Linked DNA regions of Homo sapiens: region 1 is linked to region 2. The links are contacts of gene promoters, found by promoter capture Hi-C in blood cells and fetal thymus (Javierre and others, 2016). All regions are on one chromosome and are shown on one strand. Each heading gives the region's core, a stretch centred on a gene start or on the middle of the fragment in contact. The rest is flanking DNA. Distances are from core to core; before and after follow the strand shown. Region 1 overlaps GSK3B (glycogen synthase kinase 3 beta). Region 2 holds the start of GPR156 (G protein-coupled receptor 156).

What was found. Contacts are between HindIII fragments. The CHiCAGO score rates a contact against its expected background, and 5 or more counts as called.
Region 1: a contact is called between a fragment that was not itself captured here and the fragment with the promoter of GPR156 in region 2, in 1 of 17 cell types (neutrophils). The highest score is 5.1, in neutrophils.

What each region holds. Positions count from the first base shown.
Region 1 is chr3:120,049,469-120,055,595 of GRCh38, reverse strand. The region is part of intron 1 of GSK3B (glycogen synthase kinase 3 beta); the gene reads left to right. Among named protein-coding and RNA genes, the nearest start is that of MIR6529, 32 kb to the left of the region's middle. The HindIII fragment of the contact is 3,126 bases long and covers 2,840-5,965 here.
Region 2 is chr3:120,282,119-120,288,175 of GRCh38, reverse strand. It overlaps GPR156 (G protein-coupled receptor 156), which reads left to right and starts at 2,954. Exons shown (of 10, transcript NM_153002.3): 1 at 2,954-3,147. It overlaps LOC124909418 (a long non-coding RNA gene), which reads right to left and starts at 3,020. Exons shown (of 2, transcript XR_007096029.1): 1 at 1,039-3,020. The HindIII fragment of the contact is 9,811 bases long and covers 1,471-6,057 here.

The DNA.
Region 1 (6,127 bases), core at 3,153-5,652, 230 kb after region 2:
TCCTCACTCTAACTCCCAGTTTTACAACAAATTGCCCTAAAATCTTAAAGATTTTTCATTCATACTGATTGTGGCATTTTGCTCTAAATATTGTTTCCTCCCTGATTTAGAAAGTAATTTAAAATGTACATAGAAACATAAACCAAAAAAGAATATTTTGTCGCTTTGAATATGAAAAGTGATATTGATATACTATTATTGCTGTACTGTGATGGAGTATATCACAGGTTATGGAGGTTATTTCAATATTGAAAAAATGCTAGTTGAGTATACATACATTCCTGCACCATTGTTAATAAATTATATTCTTTTTGATGTGTTGCTTAGCTTCTTGGGACCCTTTACTCACTAGACTTTTATTGACAGCTGTGTTCCAAAATACAGTTAGATAAAAAGAACAAGACACATTTTTTTTTCTAACTTTGCAGGTTGGTAGAGAAATACACATGTTCTGTGATAAGTATTATTATAGCCACAAACAATTAAGAATATTATGGGAGGGCCTAGGCAAGATATCGTTAAGAAGTGAGGGAGGAATGAAGGAAAGGGAATTGATTTGAAAAGATTAAGGTTGTACAATCTTCCTTTAGTAGTTGATGATTTCTTTAGGTGTCTGAGTCCAAAGGAGAGAGAAAGGAGGAGTCAAGAAAGACACCCAGATATTTGTCTGGGAAGACCAGATGGATACCAGTGTTTATCAAAATGTGGAATAAGCCCTACTTCCAACAAAACAAAACTCATTACATGTGCTACACTTTCAAAGACACTGTGTTATTGTTTTCCAAGATGAGTTCAATTGTGGGCATGTTAGTTTGAGGGGCCTAGGGTGGAGATTTGTGGAAGCCATTTGGAGAGCTATCAGGAGACTTGTATGAGCTGATGAGCAGTGTAGCATAAGTAGGTGAAGGAAATGCTTAAGATCATCCTTTGAGAATTTTTAGTAGGAGAAGAGAAGATGGTCAGAGACCCTCTGATAATTGAGGGACAGGCAGAGGGAAATAAATTAAGCAAAACATAAAAAAGAAAAAAGGGTCAGGTTGTGTTGAAGGCAAGTGACCAGTTTAAAGAAAAAAGGTTAGGGGAGAGAGGGATCTGAAATGTTAAATCCTGCCTAAAGGACAAATAAAATCTGAAAAGTGTTTATTAGATTTAGGAATAAGAAGGCATTGATGACTTTGGAAAAAGCAACTAAACTGGGAAGTTGGGTGTAGAAGCTGGAGAAGTGGAGGATATAGAGGTGAGGAAGTGGAAGACAGTGAGTATTGACTACCGTTTGAAAAGTTTGCCTATGAAGCTGGTGGAGTACAGGTTAAAAGTGAGCAAGCAGGGATTTGAAAGTGTTAATGTTCTAGGGAAGGAGAGAGAGGAGGGAATGAGAGATTGAACTAAGGATAAAATACCATCATCTTGAACTTTCTAGAGAAATGTTTTTTATGCTTCTTGTTTGCTCTTTTTGTAAAAATTGTTCTAAGGTATTTTTTAGATAATGCTGAATATCTTTTTTGATACCTTTATGATATTTCAGCTACCATGAATATCAGTTATTGTACTGCCGGTATCAAAGAATATATTAATAGCAACAGCCCTGTTCTAAAATACAACAGTTCAGGGCTGTATTAGTTCATTTTCATGCTGCTGATAAAGACATACGCGAGACTGGATACTTCATACAGGAAAGAGGTTTAATGGACTCACAGTTCCACGTGACTGGAAGGCCTCGCAATCATGGTGGATAGCAAGGAGGAGCAAGTCACGGCTTACATGGATGGCAGCAGGCAAAGAGAGAGCTTGTGCAGGGAAACTCCCCCTTATAAAACCATCAGATCTCATAAGACTTATTCACTATCATAAGAACAGTATGGGAAAGATGTGCCCCATGATACAATGTGGGTCCCTCCCACAACACGTAGGAATTTTGGCAGCTACAATTCAAAATGAGATTTGGGTGGGACACAGCCAAACCATTCAGGGGCCGTTTAATGTAATTATATAGTAGCTTTTTAATAGCCAGTTTTATCTTTTCCTTGTGGGTGCACATGTGTTTTGCCCACTAACTCATTGATGTGGTTGGTCCTAGCAATAGTAGTCCCTATTACTACAAATGTGCTAAGTAACTGTGAATGGGAAATCCACATTACCAAATTGTTAGAATTGTTCTTTGAATGAAATTACTGATTTTAATCATTAGATTGTAAGGAAGGTCTGGGGATTACATCTGTAAAGTGTACTCTGTGATAGATGTAGTTTTCTTTTTCTTTTGAGCCAGTGTCTCACTCTGTCGCCCAGGCTGGAGTGTAGTGGCGCGATCTGGGCTCACCACAACTTCCGCCTCCCAGATTTGAGTGATTCTTCTGCCTCAGCCTCCCGAGTAGCTGGGATTACAGGCTCCCGCCAACACACCCGGCTAATTTTTGTATTTTTAGTAGAGAAGAGGTTTCACCATGTTGGCCAGGCTGGTCTCGAACTCCTGACCTCAGGTGATCCACCCACCTCGGCCTCCCAAAGTGCTGAGATTACAGGCATGAGCACCATGCCCGGCCTATAGTTTTCTACTGCTGTTTTACTTAGAATGTAGAGCTCTATAGTAGAGCTCTGTAGTTAGACTGCTTTAGAATCCCAGCTCTAACACTTACGAACTCTGACCTTGAACAAATGACTTACCTAAGAGCTTTCTTCATCTTTAAGTTGGTGATAATAATAGTACCTATCTCACACGGCTATTGAGGTTAAATGATGTAATGCATGAAAAACATAGCTTGGTACAAACTAGGTACTTACTCAGTAAACAGCTGTTAATAATTATTTTCTCCCTGCCTCCAGGATTTTGATTTTCTAAGCTTGATGTTTTTGGAAGTCTTCTTGATTAGAAAGATGTTACTATATTTGAAAAGGGAATAGAGTCAACTAGAGTCATATTGCAAATTTTATGTGTCTGAGAGTGTAATGAGAATTTGCAGCATATGTAAACAAGTAGATTTATTTTTCTGAGGTAGGTCCATGGATTGTTAACAGTGGTTTAGGGAAGGTTAATGTGTTTAAAAATGAGAGGTAAAAAATAACCTAGAATTACCATATGGGATATTTTACTTGGGGTGCGTTGGGGGTTACTGTGGACTAGCTATTTTAGGACAGGAAATTAACATAACCTGGTGAGGCTCATGAATCTTTCAGCCTTAGTATCAGAACTACTCGGTAACCTGTAATTTAACCCATGGCAGTACTTGGAGGGCAGGAAGTTAGGGTTTGTGCCTGGTCTGAGAAAGCCTATTTTCACCTTTTTATGAGACTTGTGCTCTTAAAAGACAGAGAATGAAATTATCTAAGACATTTGACAACCATCAATTTAGTCATTTTCTTCCTTCTGTCAAATAAATTGTACTATTCTTTTAAACATTTTAGAGCCCTGTTGAAAATTTGCACCTTTTTTATATAGTAAAACATCAATGGATGGAAAATCCTGTTTTCTGGGGTAGCCCTCTTTATTGAACTTCTCTAACACCCACAGATCCCGTTTATAAAGAAGAGGCACATTTAGTATGTTTAAAAATAGTGAACTCTTTCCTTCTGTGAATTTCTCAGGATGTGTTAATGGTGTTTAAAGTTTAATGCTGCTAAACCCACACAGGAATTTTCACTGGTTTTAAATGCCACAAAAACAGTTTTTACTTTTGTTGATAGCTGGTTTAGTAAAAAGACCTTGTTGTTAAATTCAGGAATGATTTAACAAATTATTAAAGGTTTCATTGCTTTTTTCAAAATACTTCCTATTTGCAAGTCTCTTCATATCTGCAGTCATACCAAATTACTCATATCTTTTTTTTTTTTTTTTGAGATAGAGTCTCACTCTGTCGCCCGGGCTGGAGTGCAGTGGCATGATCTCTGCTCACTGTGACCTCCGCCTCTTGGGTTCAAGTGATTCTCGTGCCTCAGCCTCCTGAGTAGCTGGGATTACAGATGCCCACCACCACACCTGGCTAATTTTTGTATTTTTCGTAGAGATGGGGTTTTGCCATGTTGGCCAGGCTGGTCTCAAAGTCCTGACCTCAGGTGATACACCCGCCTCAGCCTTCCAAATTGCTGGGATTGCAGGCGTGAGCCACCGCGCCTGACCCAGTATAGTGCTTTTTATAATTAATTGTGTACTTTTAAAAAACCTTTATTCATGATAAAGTAAATCCAGTCTACTGAGTGGCTGTGCTATATCTTTAACAGCTATTTTATCTTTATTTCCTTCAGTGTTACAGCTTCCCTACATAGTACAGATTATGTTACCTAATTAAATAGTTGAGCTATGTCCCATTCTAGTTAAGAAAACTGTCCTGTTGCCTATTTTCATCTGATTAAAATTTTCTGACTTTCTTTCAATATCTGTTTTTTTGTAAACCAGCCTATTCAGTTTTATGTCCCAACGTCCTGTTCTCTTGCTTGCCCACTGATTTTTTTCTCCATCATTAAAAAAAAAAAAAAAGAAATTGATAGACAGCATCTGGAGTGTCCTAGACCCTACTAGACCTGGTGTTTGGCCCACTGATTTCTTCTCAAAATGATTGTATCCTGTAGTTTAATTTAGCTACAGTGACCCATAACACTTCACTCAAACTGCTTTTCTGCCTCTCAGATTGTTTCCTCAGTCTTGCCTGCAGAGCACTTCTCTACCTCTCCAGCCACCTACCCCGTTTAAGTGTTTATATTTTGACCTCAGCCATTTGTTCATACTCTGCCTACCTTCCTTCTACCCTAGTGATCTGGTTTATGAAAAACTAGATATTAATTCTACTGCTTTGACCAGATCTAGTCCTCTAACCCAGATCTTTTCAGAATCCTAGACCTGCAGGAATTACCACCTACATGTTCCACAGCTACTTTAAACTGAACATGTTAAAACTGAACTCATTTTCTCTCCTGACCTTCTCTCCTCCCCTAAACAGAATGAAACCTCTATATTCTTCTTCTTCCTCTCTATCTTGGTAAATGGCACCATTATCCATAGACGCCCCTGGCTTCCTTCCCAGGAACCAAAGTTGTTTCCTCCTTACACCTAGTTCTCCACCAGTAGTCATTCTTCAAGTCTACCCCCTAAATATCTTTGGAACCTATTCCTCTTCATTTACTAGAGCCTTCACTTTAGTTTAGGACCTTATCACTCTGCCTAGACCAGAGGTTTGCAAACTATAGCCCATAAAGCCAAATACGGCTAGCCGTCTGTCTTTGTAAATCAAGTTTTATTAGAATGCAACTTCTGTGGTTTAGATATGGTTTGTTTTTCAGCATTAAAACTTGTTTCGATCATCAATGTGGCAGTGTTAAGAGATGAGGCCTGGTGGGAGATGTTTTGTTTCATGGGGGGTGGATCCCTCATGAATGGCTTTGTACCTTTTTGTAGCAGTGAGTGAGTTCTTGCTCTGGTGGTACTAGATTAGTTCTCATGGGAATGGGTTAATTCTGAGATAATGGATTGTTATAAAGCCAGGATGCCGCCAGATTTTTTGTCTTCACATCTGACCACTTCCCCTTTGAGCTTCTTTGTCATTTTGTGATGTAGCATGAAAGTCCTCACCAGAAGCCAGGGCCATGCCCTTTAAATTTCCTAGCCTGTAGAACTGTGAGGTGAATAAACCTTTTCTTTATAAATTACCCAGTCTCATGTATTCTGTCATAGCACTACAAAATGGATTAAAGCAGCTGCCTTGCTCATTAGTTTATGTATTAATTGTCTATTGCTATTTTTATGCTACGAAGGCAGAATTTTGTAGTTGTGACCGAGACTGTATGGCTTGCAAAGCCCGAAATGTTTACTGTCGGGCCTTTTACAGAAAAGGTTTGCCTACCCTTGGGCTGTTACTTATTTTCTGTCTCCAGCCTTGTCTATTCTTCTGTCCTACCCCAGGTAAACATTCAGAAGTCTGATCATATATCCCCCCATATGAATCTTTTATTTACTACTCATTTGTTACAGAATAAAGCTTAAGTCCTTTATCATGGTGTAAGATCTTTGGCTACCTTTCTGGGTTTGTCTTCTGTTCAGAAGGCATGTGGATTTGTCTCTAGTATATGCTTTTACCTCTGCCTTAAATGTTCTCTCTTCTCTTTCTCGTCAACTTACCTGTCTCTCAACATCTAATACAGA
Region 2 (6,057 bases), core at 1,705-4,204:
CTCCAGTCCCTAGTCACCTCAGATTTTCCAGAACTTGGAGGTGTCACCAGTGAAGGTTATGATACAGCAAATATGGCAGCCTGTCCCTCCCCCTGGGAGCTTTGTCCCAGGGAGGTATGGACCTGTTGCTGGCCCAAAGGCACCTGTAGGAAGTGGCTGAAGACCCTGGTTGGGAGGTCCCACCTAATGAAGAGGAACAGGATGGGGCACACTTAAAAAAGCAGTCTGGCCACATTTCTGTATAGCAGCTGTGCTGTGCTGGGGGTCCACTTCAGCTCCTGGTCACCTCAGACACTCTACAACCCAAAGGCTGGAAGAGCTAAGTCAGCCAAACAGCAAAGATGGCAGCCCATCCCTCCCTCTAAGAGTGCCATCCCAGGGGGAATTCAGATCTCTGTCACAGCTGAAGAGCTCAGGCAGGGTGGCTGGAGGCCCTGGTTGGGAGGTCACACCCAGTGAGTAGGAATGGGATTGGGCACCCACTTAAAGCAGCAGTCTGGCCACATTTTGGTAGAGCAGCTGTGCTGTGCTGGGGCATCCTTACCGCCCCAGGTCGTCTCAGACTCTCCAAACCCTGAAGGCTGGAACAGCTAAAGCTCCTGAACAGCAAAGATGTTGGCCTACCCCTCCCCTGGGAGCTCCTACTTAGGCAGGTGCTATGTTGCTACTGGTAGCTGGGTGGAATTCCAAGCCAGTGGGTCCTGTCTTGTGTGAGGTGTTGTGGAAGTGGGCCCTGCGGGCTGTTGCTGCTCAGCCCTCTGGATTCAGCCTCTTTCTTAGGGGTATGAATGGGAGTCTAAACTCCCTCTTTGTGGGAGATGCAGCTACTTTTGCCAGAACGCCCAAGTATCTAAGCCTCCAGGGTCTCCACGCATGCCTGAGTGGCTGCTTTGCTGAGACTCCATGTAGCCCTGTCTGCCAGACTGAAGACTGAAGGCCCTGCTGCTAGTGGAGTGGATTCACAAGGAGATCTCCTGACAGGAGGGTTGCAAAGATCTGTGGGAGAAGCATGGTTTCCGGGGTCGCTCATTCACTTACCACTTCCCTGGGCAGGGGAAGATCCCCTGGTTCCCTGTTGCTCCCAGGTGGGCTGTTGTCCTGTCTTGCTTTTCCTTGTTCTCTGTGGGTCAGGTTGTTTCCTTGATTAATCCCAATGCGAGTACCCGGATGTTTCAGTTGAAGGTGTTGTATCTACTCGTCCCTTCTGTTCCTCTCCGTGAGAGCCATGTACATTACCTGCTTCTGGTCAGCCATCTTGGCCACTCCCCATCCTTATGAAAGTTTACACTGTATTACAATTGCACAGGAAAGTTACTGCAGGTTTGGGAGTGGGACAGAGGATAGAGGATGTTGGCTTGTTTTGTCAAGAGAGTGACATTCTTAAGTCTATGTTGGTGGTGGGGACAGATAGGAGGCAAGAAAATCAGTTAGGAAATTATTGAAACAATTCAGCCCCAGATAATCGAAGCTTATCAAGAGCAGCAGTGTGAGAATGCAGAGAAGTGGACAGTTGCCAGAAACATCTCAGAGGTAAACATGGCAGGCCTGGAAGATGAAAACCTTCAGTGCCTGGCAACTGAGGGGTTGGAAATACTCCAATCTCAGAAAAGAGAATACTGGGATTGGAGGTGGGGGCCAAGCTGGGAGAAAGATTTCAATGTCTTGCAGAATATAGAGAGGGGTTGATGAGAATAACAGCCGAAGAGCCCAGGGGAATTCCCAGGTTAAAAAAAAAAAGCCCCACAGAGATCAGAAGGGCAAATCCTCAATCTAGAGCCACAGAAGTGAAGATTTGGCTCTAGACTCTGAAGTCAGCTCTCCTACGGAAAAAAGATGGACCCAGGCCTTTTTAACTCAGGCAGCCCCCATGGAGGAGAGAGATGGTCCTCCTCAGTTTCTGCACGTTCCAAATGAAAGGGTCCTTCTGTGTAGAATGAGAGATCTGGAGAGTCCTGGGTAAAATCTCAGACATAATTCTTTCTTCTGAGAAACCAGCTTTTTGCTTACTGCCTTGAGGAAAACCTTGTCTATCTTTCTTTCTTCCTCTTGTTTTCCCCCTCAGTAGAATCCTGTGAAAAGAAGTCTTTGGGTATCACAATGTGTAAAACAGTTAAGAATGTAGCCACTGTCTTGTCACAGTGGGGTCTGCGGACCTGGCCTCTCTCTTCCCGTCCTCTACAACCAAAGATTTCCTCTGCGCAGTTGTAAAAATGTGGAATGTCCTAATGCACATAAATAGGTCTGAGATTTTAAAATAAATGAAACAAATATAATATGGAAAGTCTAAGTGGATTCCCAAGACCATTTCCAGGTCTCCCCTCTATGTTTCTCCTTGAGGGTGTCTTAAACACAACATCTCACACATATTTTTAAGCGGAAGACAGTGGGCTGGGTGCGAACATCTTGTTTGTGGCCTCCTGTAAGCATTCTTGGAAAAAGAAACGTACTTGTCTTTCTGATTATAAAATAAGCAAAAGCTCAACGTAAAGAATTTGGCAACTCCAGAGAGTATAAAATAAGAAAACTAATTGGTAACTCCGACGCCACTCCAGAAATAAAAATGAGCATTCGCGGAGAATCCTTCCAGTCTCCTTACCGAGGCCGGCTAGGGACCTGAATCTGAAGCTCCTCGCCCCGGGGCCAGCTCCTGCGGCAGCCGCTGGCTCGAGGCCCGGGAAGGGGCGCTGAGGGGAAGGCGCCCCCCAGGGAAGGTCTCTGAGGAGACGGCCGGAGGCGGGGCCGCCCCAGGGGACTCGGCGGCGACGCAAGGAGAAAGATCCGAGGAGCTGGAGGAGCCGTGAGGCGCGTGGAGTCTGCAAGGTCCCGGAGCCCTCCCGGCCCTCGCGGGAGAGCAGGGTCGAGGCGCGCCACGCGGGCGGCGCCAGGGAGGGGCGGGCAGGCGTGGCTCAGCCAGTGCCCCGGCCAGAGGCGCCCGGCGCCCCGCGCACACCTCAGAGGCCTGCGCCGCCGTCCCGCCGCCTCCACGCCAGGCTCCCGGCGCGGCGATGGGCGCGGGCCCCTGTCTCTGCCCCGGCCCGCCCCTTCCCGCCCCTTCCAGCCCCGCGAACGCGCGAGACGCCGGGGGACCGTGGGCGTCCTGCACATAGCAGCGGGCTTGGCGCTTCTCGGCGGTCCGACGCTGATGAGGTGAGCACAGCGACCTTAAGGATCCACAAAACTTCAAACACTTAATTATTAAGTGAAAGTGGAAAGGGGGAGGGGCTTTCTCTCCCTTTCCAGAATCTGGGCAGTTTGTTTGGAACCGGTAAAGAAACTCTCATAGGAACTTGAGGTGAGCAGGGGTCACGCATCAGGGATGCGAGTGGCAATTTCAGTGGAAGAGACGGGAGAGTACTGTAATTTGGTGTGAAGATGGGGCCGTGGGTTTTCTGCTGAATAAGCGACCGGCTGTGCTGAAAATGAGAGATCCCGAAACAGTTTCCCACCGCCTGTAGACTTTCCAGAGTCTCCTCACGCCGAATCTGCTTTGCAGGGCATGTTCACCCCCAGGGTGTAGAGTGGCGGGCACGATGGGCTCCCCCATGGAGATTGCAAAGTCCTGAAAAGGGACAATTGTATTGCACTGCGTCTGTTGAACTGCCTTGCTTCTGGGCATGAGGGAGTCACCTGGAAGCTGCAACATCCTTGTACCCTGGCAAGCAGCCCTTTCCAAGTTAGCTCTGTCAGAAACTAGAGGCCTCTAGGTAGAACTCAAGGTATCCATGTACTCGTGAAGAATACAAACCTTGAGGTTTTTAAAATCGAATTTTGTTAAGATTTCAGGATAGAAATCTGGGAAGAGAAGTCATGGCATGGCATAACTTACCCCTTTGTTAGTTTTCTAGGTACATGCATGCTTGAATTAGAGGTAAATGATGCCCTAGCCTATCATAAAATGTCTTTCCTGGTGTAGTTCTTTAAACCAGAATATGGAGGATAACATTACATTTTTGCATCCTAGATAAAAGGGAAAGATTTTCAGATGGGGCTTACACAGCGGGAGAAATTGTTGATATAGTTGTATTAGGCAGCAAGGCCTGCAAAGAAAAACTTCTTTTTCTCCACCAGTGGCTGAATTCTGCACAGAATGTCTCCTCGCAGTCTGGGTAGCAGCCCGGCTTGCAAAAACAGTGCTTCTTTCATTGCTGCAGGTGGGGCAAATGCGCTTGCGGATAAATGGCTGGGGAAGCGTTTGCTTACAGGTTAAGGCAATTTGAGTCTGGAGAATAAAGTGCTTTAGCAGGCTGTGCTTGAGTTAGGTGTCCCTTGTGAGGAATAGAGGTGGCTTTCTGGTCCCCATTTTGCCAGCCTAATTCCCCTTCAGGGACACTACTGTCTCTGGAATGTTCCCTCTGTTTCCCCTTCTCTTCCACCCCCAGCTTTTAGCTTCTCCCCATTCCCCAGTAAAGTCTAGAATTGAGCCTGGTCAGAGTCAAAGTTCTGATAGCCTAGGGATATAGAACTTCAAGCCTGGTGAAGGCAGAAATGAGACCTAGGAGAGACCCAAGATGGGTGAGATGAAACAACTTTCAGCCTAGAAGGCTCTCAAAAGAGTGGAAAAATAATGATTGAGGGAAACAGATTCTCTGGAAAGGAGAATAGGTGCTTAAGTGTTTGTTTTCAGCTGAGGGTTTTAATATTTCCATTTTTGTTGTTTAACCATAAGGGAATTTCCATTATAGGGTAGGAGGAGGATGAGGCCTTCTCTGAAAACTGCATCCTTCTCCTTGAATTTGCATTTTATTCCATTCTTATGTAGGTTTCAGAGATTAATTGGGGGAAGGGGGAGAGAGGAAAGAAGCCAGAGGCTCTGACATGCTGCAGAAACAGTGCAACGTGGACTGACTTGGGCTGCAAAGGTGGATTTGGGGGTTGAAAGAAATGTTCTACATTTAGTTGAAAAAAAAAAATCAGAGCCTTTATTTTGCAAAGGTCTTGAGAATCAGAACATTCATGTTTAGTTGCTGATGAATTTTGCCTGATAAAGGATGCAAATCACTATCTCACCTTTTTTTCTCCAGTACTTTATTATGAAAAATTTTAGACATACAGAGATGTTTTCTACCTCTCATTTTATAAACTTATTATCTTAAAACAAACTTGTTAATAAAAATCAGTGTTTAGAATCCAGACATATGTGATCTGGTCCTGGACAGAGCTTGAATCAGAAGGTGTTTCAAATATAGATGTGTGAAGGATATTAACATTTTAAGAAAAAAATATGGATCTTATTCTTCTGACTTTCCCATAAGAATCTTGAGCAGACCCCTTAACTGCCTTCTTTTTCCCATTCTTAAAATGTCAGTCAGTTGGATGATATTACTCTCCTGCTTAACACCCTCCAATGGCTTCCCCTCACACTGTGAATAACATTCAACTCTCCACCAGGGCTTGTGATTTGGTCTGGTGCCCTCATATTCTATGGCCGTCCTCTTGCTTACCATCGTCCTTGCTCTTCCCTCTGCCTGAACACTCTTCCTTCAGACACTGCCACTGCTTCTTTTCTCAGCTCATTCCAGTTTCTTTTCATACTCTCCAGAATGATGGCCACCTGATCTAAAACAGCCTGTGGTCACTCCCTGTCTTCTGACCCTGCTTTATCCTTCTTCATGGCACTTAGCACTCCCTGACACTATATAGTATATGTGTTTCCTTGTTAATTGGGCATGTTCCCCACTCTAATGTAAACTCCATCAAGACAAGGAATTTTTTTGTCTTATTTATGGCTGTGTTCCTATTTGGTATATTATGAGCAATTAATAAATAACTGTTGGATTAATTAGGTAACTAAATTACACAAATAAGGCATTGACTCCCATAAGGGTGGCAGAACCCTTGGTAAAATACTAGAAGTCCTTTGAGGTAATTCATAATTCAAGTTAATCAATATTTGATAGGTAAATGATGACCCTGGAGATCAGTGGCCTCTTTTATCCTCACAGCACTTCTCAGCTGAATCCTATGCTAATAGCTGGCCAGTTTTGACAAACCCACATCCCAAACAAGACATAAAATATTTCAGTCACAGAACTTTTCCTCACGTCTCTTTCTAGTCAC